Regions from separate parts of the Homo sapiens genome. Here all the other regions are linked to region 2. Evidence: promoter capture Hi-C in human tissues and cell types (Jung and others, 2019). All regions are on one chromosome and are shown on one strand. The core of a region is centred on a gene start or on the middle of the fragment in contact, and the rest is flanking DNA. Distances in the headings are between cores, read along the strand shown.

What was found. The method cuts DNA at HindIII sites, captures the fragments that hold promoters and counts their contacts. A contact is called where the count stands out against the background at its distance.
Region 1: a fragment that was not itself captured here is called in contact with the fragment with the promoter of MYO10 in region 2 in 1 of the 25 tissues and cell types used here (H1 embryonic stem cells).
Region 3: a fragment that was not itself captured here is called in contact with the fragment with the promoter of MYO10 in region 2 in 1 of the 25 tissues and cell types used here (aorta).
Region 4: a contact is called between a fragment that was not itself captured here and the fragment with the promoter of MYO10 in region 2, in 2 of the 25 tissues and cell types used here (mesendoderm cells and thymus).

What each region holds. Positions count from the first base shown.
Region 1 is chr5:16,610,671-16,613,612 of GRCh38, forward strand. The region is part of intron 1 of RETREG1 (reticulophagy regulator 1); the gene reads right to left. Among named protein-coding and RNA genes, the nearest start is that of RETREG1-AS1, 3.8 kb to the right of the region's middle. The HindIII fragment of the contact is 6,881 bases long and covers 1-2,942 here.
Region 2 is chr5:16,934,737-16,937,586 of GRCh38, forward strand. MYO10 (myosin X) reads right to left here and starts at 1,552. Exons shown (of 41, transcript NM_012334.3): 1 at 1,052-1,552. The coding sequence starts at 1,072. The HindIII fragment of the contact is 7,585 bases long and covers 1-2,709 here.
Region 3 is chr5:17,307,656-17,310,473 of GRCh38, forward strand. No RefSeq gene overlaps it. Among named protein-coding and RNA genes, the nearest start is that of LINC02111, 78 kb to the right of the region's middle. The HindIII fragment of the contact is 7,473 bases long and covers 1-2,818 here.
Region 4 is chr5:16,490,974-16,494,019 of GRCh38, forward strand. The region is part of intron 3 of RETREG1 (reticulophagy regulator 1); the gene reads right to left. Among named protein-coding and RNA genes, the nearest start is that of ZNF622, 27 kb to the left of the region's middle. The HindIII fragment of the contact is 5,761 bases long and covers 1-3,046 here.

The DNA.
Region 1 (2,942 bases), core at 165-2,664, 320 kb before region 2:
GCCATCAGAGAAATGCAAATCAAAACCACAATGAGATATCATCTCACACCAGTTAGAATGGCGATAATTAAAAAGTCAGGAAACAACAGGTGCTGCAGAGGATGTGGAGAAATAGGAACACTTTTACACTGTTGGTGGGACTGTAAACTAGTTCAACCATTGTGGAAGTCAGTGTGGCGATTCCTCAGGGATCTAGAACTAGAAATACCATTTGACCCAGCCATCCCATTACTGGGTATATACCCAAAGGACTATAAATCATGCTGCTATAAAGACACATGCACACATATGTTTATTGCGGCACTATTCACAATACCAAAGACTTGGAACCAACCCAAATGCCCATCAATGATAGACTGGATTAAGAAAATGTGGCACATATTCACCATGGAATACTATGCAGCCATAAAAAAGGATGAGTTCATGTCCTTTGTAGGGACATGAATGAAGCTGGAAACCATTCTCAGGAAACTATCACAAGGACAAAAAAACCAAACACTGCATGTTCTCACTTATAGGTGGAAACTGAACAATGAGAACACTTGGACACAGGAAGGGGAACATCACACACCAGGGCCTGTCATGGGGTCGGGGGAGTGGGGAGGGATAGCATTAGGAGATACATCTAATGTAAATGATGAGTTAATGGGTGCAGCACACCAACATGGCACATGTATACATACGTAACAAACCTGCACGTTGTGCACACGTACCCTAGAACTTGAATAAAAAAAAAAATCACATCAGAGACGCTTTCTAGGCTGCAGATGTAACATGCCCAAAAGAGGAGCTGCATCATAAGCCATTAAATTTCAATACAGCGATCAGCAAGACTTAGGAAACGGACCTTTCACTCCATTCTGTGCCTATCCAAGGCAACCATCAGGGCTTACCACTTTCCTCACCAAAAACAGACACTTCACACAAAGATTTCTACGTGATGTTTTCCAATAGCTTTATTCATAATAGTCAAACATGAAAACTACCTGAAGGAACATCAACTAGCAAATGGATAAACAAATTGTGGTACATCATCAAAGTGGTACACTACCCAGCAATACAAAGCAGCAAATAACTGATACACACAGCAGAGATGAATCACAAAACTACGCTGAGTAAGCAAAGCCAGACACAAAAGACATCACACACTTTAGGAGGCTGAGGCAGGCAGATCACCTGAGATCAGGAGTTCGTGACCAGCCTGACCAATATGGTGAAACCCTGTCACCACTAAAAATACAAAAATTAGCCAGGCTTGGTGGCATGTGCCTGTAGTCCCAGCTACTCGGGAGGCTGAGGCAGGAGAATCGCTAGAACCCAGGAGGTGGAGGTTGCAGTGAGCCAAGATCGCACCACTGCACTCCAGTCTGGGAGAGAGAGAGAGACTCCGTCTCAAAAAAAAAAAAAAAAGGACATCACCCTATCACCCTAAATAACACCATTTATACAAAGCTTTAGGGAAGTCCAACCTAGTCAACAGTGACAGAAACAGATCAGTCCCCAGGGGTGGGTGCTGATAGAACAGGGATGCAAAGAAGCCTTTAAGGGTGATGAAATATTCTAGATCTCAACTGCCAGTATGGTTACACAGGCACATATGATACATTTGACTGTATACTTACAGTATGGGCATTTTATTGGTGGTAAACCACAAAAAGTTGATATTTAAAAAAAAACCAACATTTTCTATTACATTGGGCTCATTCCATTTCAGGATGTGCTTACAAGTACAACATGGGTTGCTTCTGAGAGGAAACTGCGTAGACAGGGACAGGCGTGGGAAGACATCAAAATGTTTACCCTTCTGTACATTTAAACATCTGAACTGTAAGGCTATGTTAGTTAATTTTTAAATAAATAAAATTTTAAATGAAGGAAAAAATTCTAAAAACATGTTCTTCATTGGTGAAATGAGTGAGATAGTATTATCTGAGGCCCCTCATCACCACAAAACTATGGGACTGTTACCCAATCTACTTCAGTTGTGGAAACCCTGCTTTTTGAGACAGGCACTCTATGTGGCCTCTATTTTACCAAACTCCTCTGAGTTCTCATGAATATCATTTTTTAGCATTTTTTCATATTTCAGTATTTTTCATAAAATATACCATAGATAAGAATGCATATGTGTGTGTGTGTGCCTGCACGTCTCGGATTCGAGAATGTCTTTTATTTTCTTTGTAGTTTTATCCCCTATGTGTGTATCCCTAACCAATCCTGTTCAGTTCCTGCACCATTTAAAACTTAATTGAATCATTCAGCATATATTACTTTGTGCATCTTTTGACCAAAATTACATTTGTAAAATTCATCCCTGTTGTTGCTAAAGCTGTATTTTCATTGTTATATGGTATCACAATTTATAATAAATAAATGAACCACAGTGTACTTATCCATTAAATTATTTGTGGATACTTCTACAAAGTATTTTTTTTTTTGGTCCCTGTTGCCTACAGAAAAAACAAATCCAAACACACAACATAGCATCTGAGGCAACTACTGCCCCCACAAACCACCTAGCCAACCTTATCTCCCACTACATTTTCTACCAGCCCATGCTGCCATTGCATCTGTTTACTGTGTAGTGGTTGAAATATTAGGTACACCTTCAAGATGCTATTGTGTTCATTGTATTCCTCAGGGTTAGAATGCTCTTGATCATCTACTAGATCTCCCAAATCATTCTTATCCACTGAGGTTTAAGCATGATCTCCTTATTAAGAACCCCACAATCTCTTCCATCCACAATACCACGTTCCCCAAAACCATATCAAAATGAATTATCCTTTCCTGAATCTTCCACCACACTTAATTCATGCAACTTTTAGTTATACCCATTGGTTACGGCTGTGTCACAATTTTTGCCCAAAATCTTGCAGATAATGGGCAGGTAATAAATGTTGAAGCTTTTGAGTCAAATTCAGACTCCTAAAACCCACTGC
Region 2 (2,850 bases), core at 302-2,801:
TAGCTGTCTGAGAATACAGTCAGTGAGCATGCAGAAAGCAGAATGACTTGAAATATTATATCCAATTAAATCAGATAAACCAAGTCGGCTAACACAGAGGCAAGCCCTCATCAATCTGATTTGCTGGAAGACTCCAAAGCGGTTCTGCACTCAGAAAACATTCCCTGGCTTTCAACGAAAATCACATCAGACTCTCTCAAGTCAACTAAGTTTACTTTGAGCCACTTCAAACCTCAAACTTAAACAGAATTTATTAAATAAACACAACCAAGAAAGGAAAGGGAGCCAAGAAACCACAGTAAGTCTCGATCCCAAAGGGGGAAAAAGGGTTCTCAAGTTAAGTTTCAGTGTCCCACCCTCAACGACCCTAAAGAGGGCATCCGTTTCATCTATTAAAATAGCCACTGTTTGCCCTAAACGAATTTTCTTTACATTCGAATTCAAAATCTGCATGGACACTCTACACAAATACATGATCATTTGATCCCAGGGTCTGGAGTTATCCCAAGCCTTAAAAGAGCACTTCTCGGCGAGCAAAGTAACCGATTAAACCCTTGCCTCTCCTTCTCACACTTCATTAAGCCGTCTCCTCTGGAAGTGTTTGAACCCCTGCACAGGAAGCCCGCACGTTTTGCAAAGGAAATACCAGACAAGACCTTTCTTGGAGAAAGGCAGGTCCCCGCTGAACATTTTATTGGGCTTCCTGCACCCGGGCAGTCGAGCGGGCGGATCGCCCCGCCCGCGCCCCGGCGCGCGCCGCCTCACCTGGCGCGGGTGTCCCAGGGCGCCCCGAGAGCCAGCCACCCACGCAAACGGAAACGCACCTTCGCTACCTCCCGGAGCAAAATGCGAGCGCGGGACAGGACGAAACAAAACCTGCCCGGGCTTACTCATCAGAGACTCCGCGGGGGGATGGGGGGTGATTTCAGGAGACTCCCAGAAAGTTGCGCCTTCCAGGGCTTAGGAAAAAGTACCCAGGGCGCGCGGCGTGGTGGGCAGACGCCTCTCTCCCTGGGCTCCGGAGGCCAGGTCGGACTGGGAGCGCACTTACCTCGGTGAAGAAGTTATCCATTGTTCCAGCGCAGTCCCGGACTCGCCGAGTGCCGCTCCGACTCGCGGAAGTCAGCGCCGCCGCGGGTCCGGGGAAACCATGCGTGTCACGGCGCCACTCCCGAGGACGCGCGCCCGCGGGGCTCCCCTGCTGCCATCGCCCGGTCCCTTCTTGTCCTTCTCACCTTTTGTTCGCCCAAACCCAAGTCCCTAACTCGCCCGTCCCGACGGCAGCCTTTGTCTCTTCTTCCTCCAAGTTCCTCACTACTGGGCGCAGCGCTCGCAAGCGGAGAACAGCTGGTGGCACATTCTTCCCCCAGGCGGGGGAAGGCGGCGGGGTGCTGGCGAGCGCGGCCCCCTCCCTCTGCGCTCCGGCCGGGGGCCCTCGGGGCGGGCAGGAGGACAGCGGGCCGCAAAGTGAGCAGGAGCCGCGATCCCCGCGCGAGCGCTTGGAGGTGAGCAGTCCCGCGCCGCGGCTCAGCCAGCTCTCGCCCGCGGGACTACAGCCCAGCGACCTCGCCCCGCCCTCCCGCAGCCGGCCCCGCCCTCCCGCAGCCGGCCCCGCCCTCCCGCTCGCGGCCCCGCCCCCAGGAGCTTGGCCCTCCGCCAACCACACCGTCTGGCCCCGCCCGGGCGGAGCGCCCCGCCCCCTTCCCGACCAGGCCCCGCCCACTCTAAGCCCGAAGCAGCCGCAGGCTCGTTAGCGGACCCGGGAGGGGGCCGCGTGTTTCCCCAGGTCTTCCCACGTAGGCGTGGGGAGGGGATTTAACTCTTCCCTCTGCAGAGAGAGACTAAACAATCACTTAGAGGGGAGGAGAAGGGACTGGGGGCTTCTGTGCCTTTCATGTTTAGCAGACCCGGGAACCGGCTCAACACGGATCTCATTAATGCAGCCCGGTAGACTAGCAATCTCGGGAAGGAAGCGCGGTCAGCGGAGCTGCCGGGGCTGCGGGGCCAGATCAAAGCGGAAGACGGAGGCTAATCAGAATTTCTGGAAGCTGCATTCCCGTGTTGACTTTCTGTCCTGCAGTCGGGTTTGCTTAAGACGTTTGCGTAACAGCGGGGAAATGTAGTTTTGAAACTGGAAGGGGACGTGGCCAATATCACCTTTAAAAATGTAACCCTTTTCTAGACCTCAAGGAAGCAGAGATGGCAGATGGCACTGAGATGGACGAATGATCAAACCCACCTGGCACTGAGTCCCGTTTCCCCTAGGGCAGTTCTTTTAACTTTATGCTGTGCGAGGGTCACCTGGGAACCTTGTTAGAACGCAGGCTGGAACAATCTGCTTTCCAGGTGCCCCTCAGGTGCTACCTGGTCCTGTGCTGAACGAAAGCTTGTAACAAGTAGAGAAATTAAGAGTAAACGTTTGTAGCAATTTAATAATGCCACGACATCCAAGCACATGATCAGTGGACTCTTTGAACCGAGTATAAACCAGTTTGGGTGTTGTCAGACTCACGTGGTGAGTCACACCTGGCGCCGCAGTGTATTGGTACCTGGCCGACTGGGAACAAAAATGGCTGGTTCTTCAGCACAAAAGATTTGAGATGCTCTCTCCAGGGAATTTGCCAACTGCTACTCAACCTTTAAAACTCAGCTCACAAAGTCACACCTTCCAGGGGAAGGAACCCTTCCCAAAGATGCTACTCCACTCACCCCACCCAAGCTCCCCGTAACCACTGGGCTAGATGCCCACTCTAGGATTTATTCCTAAGACTGTTGGGGAAGGACTGTGCTTTAAGATGAGTATCCCCAGGCTGTCTCACAGCATGAATGAATGAATGAAACATCCTTCTG
Region 3 (2,818 bases), core at 309-2,808, 370 kb after region 2:
CTTTTAATGGCTGCATAGTATTCCATGGTGTATATGTACCACATTTTCTTTATCCAGTCTATCACTGATGGGCATTTAGGTTGATTCCATGTCTTTGCTATTGTGAATAGTGCTGCAATGAACATTCGCGTGCATGTGTCTTTATAGCAGAATTATTTATATTCCTCTGGGTATATGCCCAGTAATGGGATTCCTGGGTCGAATGACAGTTCTGCTTTTAGCTCTTTGAGGAATCACCATACTGCTTATGTGCCAGGCACTCATTTAGGGGCTTAAATATATTTGATTCTTCACCACTGTGGGGTCATCTAAAACATCTTTTAAAATTTCAAATATGACTTATAAACAGATCCAGAAATGGATTAAGGAGGGGGAGTAAAAAGAATAAACTTGAAAACAAGTACTCAGATAAATACCTGTACATGACTTTTCATAGAAGCATTATTCACAATAGCCAAAAGGTGAAAACAGCCTAATGTTCATCAATGGATGAATTAATAAGCAAACTTTGGTATATCTATGCAACTGAATATTATTTAGCAGTAAAGAAAAGAAGTACTGATACATGCTACAACATGGGTGAACTTGGAAAACATCATTCTGAGTGAAAAAAATGCAACACGAAAGGTCTCATATTGCATGCTTTTCTTTATTACCAGTGGGTACCTGGTTTTCTTTTGGGGCAATGAAAATATTTTAGAACTAGAGAGAGGGGGTAGTTGAACAACACTGCAAATGTACCAAATGCCACTGAATTGCACACTTTAAAATTAATTGTATGTTATATGAATTTTACCTCAATAATAATAACAGGCTGGGTGTGGTGGCTCACACTTGTAATCCCAGCACTTTAGGAGGCCGAGGCCAGTGAGTCATGAGGTCAGGAGTTAGAGAACAGCTTGGCCAACATAGTGAAACTTTTAGTCTCTACTAAAAATACAAAAAAATTAGCTGGGCATAGTGGCGGGCGCCTGTAATCCCAGGTACTCGAAAGGCTGAGGCAGGAGAATCGCTTGAACCCAGGAGGCGGAGGTCACAGTGAGCCGAGATCTTGCCGCTGCACTCCAGCCCGGATGACAGAGTGAGATTCCATCTCAAACAAACAAACAAACAAACAGAAAACAAAACAAGAAGAAAGAATAAACCTAGAATAAAAGTCTCTCTCTCTCTCTCTCTCTCCCTCTCCCTCCCTCCCCCTCTGTCTCTCTTTCTTTCTTTCTTTCTCTCTTTCTTTCTCTTTCTTTCTTTCTTTTCTTTTCTTTCTTTCCTTTTTTCTTTCTTTCTCTCTTTCTTTTCTTGACAGGGTCTCACTCTGTCCCCCAGGCTAGAGTGTAGTGGTGCAATCTTGGCTCACTGTAGCCTCAGCTTTCTGGGCTCAAGTGATCCTCCTACATCAGCCTCCTTAGTAGTTGGCACTACAGGCTAATTTTTATTTGTTTGTTTTGTAGAGACAGAGTTTTGCCATGTTGCCCAGGCTGGTCTGAAACTCCTGGGCTCAAGTGATCCTCCCACTTTGGCCTCCAAAATGCTGGGATTACAGACATGAGCCACTGCACCTGGCCTAGAAATTTTATTATTTTTATTCACTGCTATGCCTTAAACAATGCCCTACACAGGGCAGGTGTGCAGTACATATTTGGTGAATAAATGTATGGATGAACATCAGTATTGAGTCTTAGTTTTCTTCAACATCAGGCATCATGGGTACTATATTAGCCAGGGTTCTCCAATGAAACAGAACATATAAATATAAAGAGATTTATTATAAGGTATTGGCTCATGTGACTATAGGGGCTGAGAAGACCTAAGGTCTACTGTCTGCAAGCTGGAGACCGAGGAAATCCAGAGGTGTAGTTCAAAGGCCTCAGGACCAGGAGCACTGCAAGCAGATCCGTGCCCTAGCTCAACCAGGAAGGAAGAGAGGGAATCCAATCTTCCTCCACCCTTTGATTCTATTGAGGTCATCAGTGGACTGAATGATGCTCAGCACAATGGGGAGGATTATCTGCTTTACTCAGCCCACCAATGTAAATGATAATCTCTTCAGGAAACATCCTCACAGATGTGCCAGAAATAATGTTCAATCAGCTATCTGGGCATCCCATGGACAAGCCAAATTGACTCATAAAATTAACCATTAACCATCACAGATACCATAAAGGCGTAGAATTTTCTAAAGAAAAGGAATTTTTTTTTTTTTTGAGATGGAGTCTTGTTTTGTTGCCCAGGCTGGAGTGCAATGGCACAATCTTGGCTCACTGCAAGCTCCACCTCCCGGGTTCAAGTGATTCCCCTGCCTCAGCTTCCCGAGTAGCTGGGATTACAGGTGCCCACCACCACACCCAGCTAATTTTTGTATTTTTAGTAGAGACGGGGTTTCACCAGTTTGGCCAGGCTGGTCTCGAACTCCTGACCTCAGGTGATCCACCCACCTCGGCCTCCTAAAGTGTTGGGATTACAGGCGTGAGCCACTGTGCCTGGCCAGGAGGTACTTTTTAATCTTTTACTGCCACCTGGAAATGGAGGATGCCGTTTAGATAGTTTTGGAATGAAACTAAAGACAATCTAGTTGGCAAGATGAGACAGGTAAACAGAAAGTTAAATGATAATGCAGGAGAATAATATGATGTTATAGTGGAAGAAACAACCATCTGGGAATCATTAGATTTCATTTTTGATTCTGACTATTTTACTCAGGAGAGGATTTCAATCTCTGTGGGCCTCAATTTTCTCATTGGTAAATTTAGAAGGTGAGACCAGATGGCTTCTCTGACCCATTCTATACTTTACTTGTTATGCACATTTGTTTGGCAAAGGA
Region 4 (3,046 bases), core at 188-2,687, 440 kb before region 2:
CCAGCTGTTCCTAAATTAGTACCCACAAAGTGATTCCATAATCATGAACCCAACTTCACAAACTTCAATTACAACACGTGCCCATAATAACCATGACCATGGCAACTATCTGCTAAGCTCTCCCTGTGTGCCAGGCACTATGTTAAGCACTCTGCCCGCACTGTCCCAATGTCCTCCACATGATCCCCCTAGGACCCCATCCCATTACGATACCCTGCAAGGCAGGGTTATCTCCATTTTACCCAAGAGAAAACTGAGGCTGAAAAGGGCTTGAAACACAGCAGATCTCCTGGTTACCGACCACGACCGTCGCATCTGGTAACGTTCTTTCAGGGCAACTATGAATTGCAATTAATTTATGACATTTGTAACACTGACTCCCTATGAGACTTTAAATCCCATGAAGGAATTCTTGGACAGTGCTCTGTCTTCAGTAGCTAACAGAGCTTGACATCTATGAGGCACATAAAAATACTGAATGAATATAAACAGTAAACATCCAAAGAAGAAAATATCAAAAATAATTAACAGTGGTTATTTGGTGGCACCATGTTTTTAATTCACTTATCCGAATGTTTCTATACATTACGTGTTGGTAATAATTAGCATGCATTCCCTCATATGTATAAAAATATACAAAATAATAGACAAAAAGTCCTATTAAAAATCTAGAAAACAACTGTCATCTATAGGGAAGAGTTTTGTTTTGTTCTTTCTTGCAAATGGGCAGTTAAAATGCCTTCAAAATTAGCTAATTAGGAAATACGGGCCAGGCACAGTGGCTCACACCTGTAATCCCAGCACTTTGGGAGACAAAGGCGGGAGTATCCCTTGATCCCCAGAGTTCATGACCAGCCTAGACAACATGGCAAGACCCTGTCTCTACGAAAGAAAGGAAAGAAAGGAAGAAAGAAAGAAAGATGCTTCATATATTCCAAGACTTTCTGGAACTGAAAATCGGTATTTCATATGAGATTTCTGCGGGCAAAACTTGAGCCTTAATGTGTGACTTGGGGATCCCTGGATCCATGAGTATCTCCTGCGGGCACTGTTCCCACATGGCCCACCAGCATTTGTGATACCAGTAGAGAACAGAACTGGGCCCTGACGAATATCCAACCTTCACATGAAATATCAGAGAAAAATGACTCCCTTTTTGGTTTTGCTTTTCAAGTTTTTGTAGGGCAACTGCACCCCGCTGGAGAACATTTTCAGACAGTGTTGTCCTCTCTCTCTCTCTCTCTCTCTCTCTCTCTCACACACACACACACACACACACCATTCTTGTTAGGTTTTAACTTTTTCACATCCTTATGAATTTATAGTGCAATAATCATTTCCAAAGATGTTTTGATTTCTGTTATAATACCTCCAGAAAGTATACATTATTTCACACTACTCATTATTTTATTTTCAATTTATAAGAAATGGAAGTTGAAGCCAAACAATATTTTTCAGAAAGTTTGCTAAGTCACCATTCCATATTGACAAACTTAAAAAAAAAAAAAAAGGATTTGTTATAACTCGTCACCTGGCAACCATGACAAACAGCTGCTGCAACCATCACACCTATAAATATGCTTTGGCTTGGAGACCTTTCATTCTCAGCTAGTGACTAAGGGTCTCATGCTCTCTACTGGTAGTGGACATCTGTTGATGCTAATTCCTGTCGAATTTTTCTTAGAAAGGTCAGTCAGTATCTGGTTACAGATTTTAACATTTCTTAGTGTAATGTGTTAGAATTTTTTTTAATCCTGTGGATACTTATTATGTTCCTCTGTGTGTAGGTGCTTGCATATGACTGTATGTAGGCAGAGAAACAAAATAAAAACAGATATATTTCTCTGCATGAGCACTCACTGAATTAGAACCATGACAACGCAAATAAGATTTGTCAACTAGAGGATTAAAAAGAGTAAACACAAGATTAAGAAATTACATCGCACTCAACTTGAAGCGTTCACTTTCTCAGGCCAATTAGCCACGTGAGCGACTCCTCCCAAGGCCAGGGACCAGAAGGCGCCAGTGAGTGCTGGCTTTTTCTGCCTGGAGAAGCTTTCTGCCCGGAGAGCCCCATCTTCCTCAGAGCAACTTAGTGTTCTATTTGGGGCTCTCCCTTTTTTTATATCAAGTTTAAAACGACTCAGAGATCAGCTACTTACTTTTGCGATTGACCCTTTCCACCTCCTATCTCAAACTGAGCACTGCTACTTCTCCAGGTGATCATCAATTATCCAATCCACCTAGATCATTTGGGAGGCTGACACTCAACTACCCATCATAGTATTTATTACAGTTTCAAGTTTCTATGAACAAGATGCCAAGTATAAGTCATTTTTCAGCGTTTTTAATTTTAACATTTTAATAACTAGACTTTCATAAGCCCAGGGCATGAGTAATGCAAATTCCATTACTAGCATAGGACAAGCACCTACTTGAGACCTGCAGGAGATTCAACACCCTTTCATTTGTGAATGCCAAGATTTGCTTCAATCACTGTCCCTGAGGGCAGAAAATATTTCTACTTTATCCCTGAAGGACAGATAATATCAGATAGTCAAGAAACACTCCTCAAGGAAAACAAAACTGTTATTGTGAAGCAGGCTGGCTCATTTAGATATAAGTCTTTTCTTGCATTCCACTGAAGATCCACAATTTCTGATGAATTTCAACCCAGGGTTTACTGTAGTTGGAGTCAAAAGTAAATGTCCCTTCCCTGCATTGCAACATTTGGCCTACTTATATGAAACCTGTGAGGATACTAAAAAATATGTTTCCTACAGCACAAAAAAAAAAGTCATTAACAATATTGTTCCTAATTTTGCTTTTTAGAGATGGTACCCACCACACTGGTCCTGAGCACCAGGTATATACAACTCAAACACTGAATTCTCAAGTTTCTCCAAAGTGCTTTTATTATGAAGGCCAATTCAAATTATTTTTGTTTGTAGAATCAGCCTTTGTAATAAAAAGCAATAACCTGGAAGATGGCAAACTTGGAGTGACTATCGCACATTAAGATATTCAGTCAAGATGCTAGGCTGTT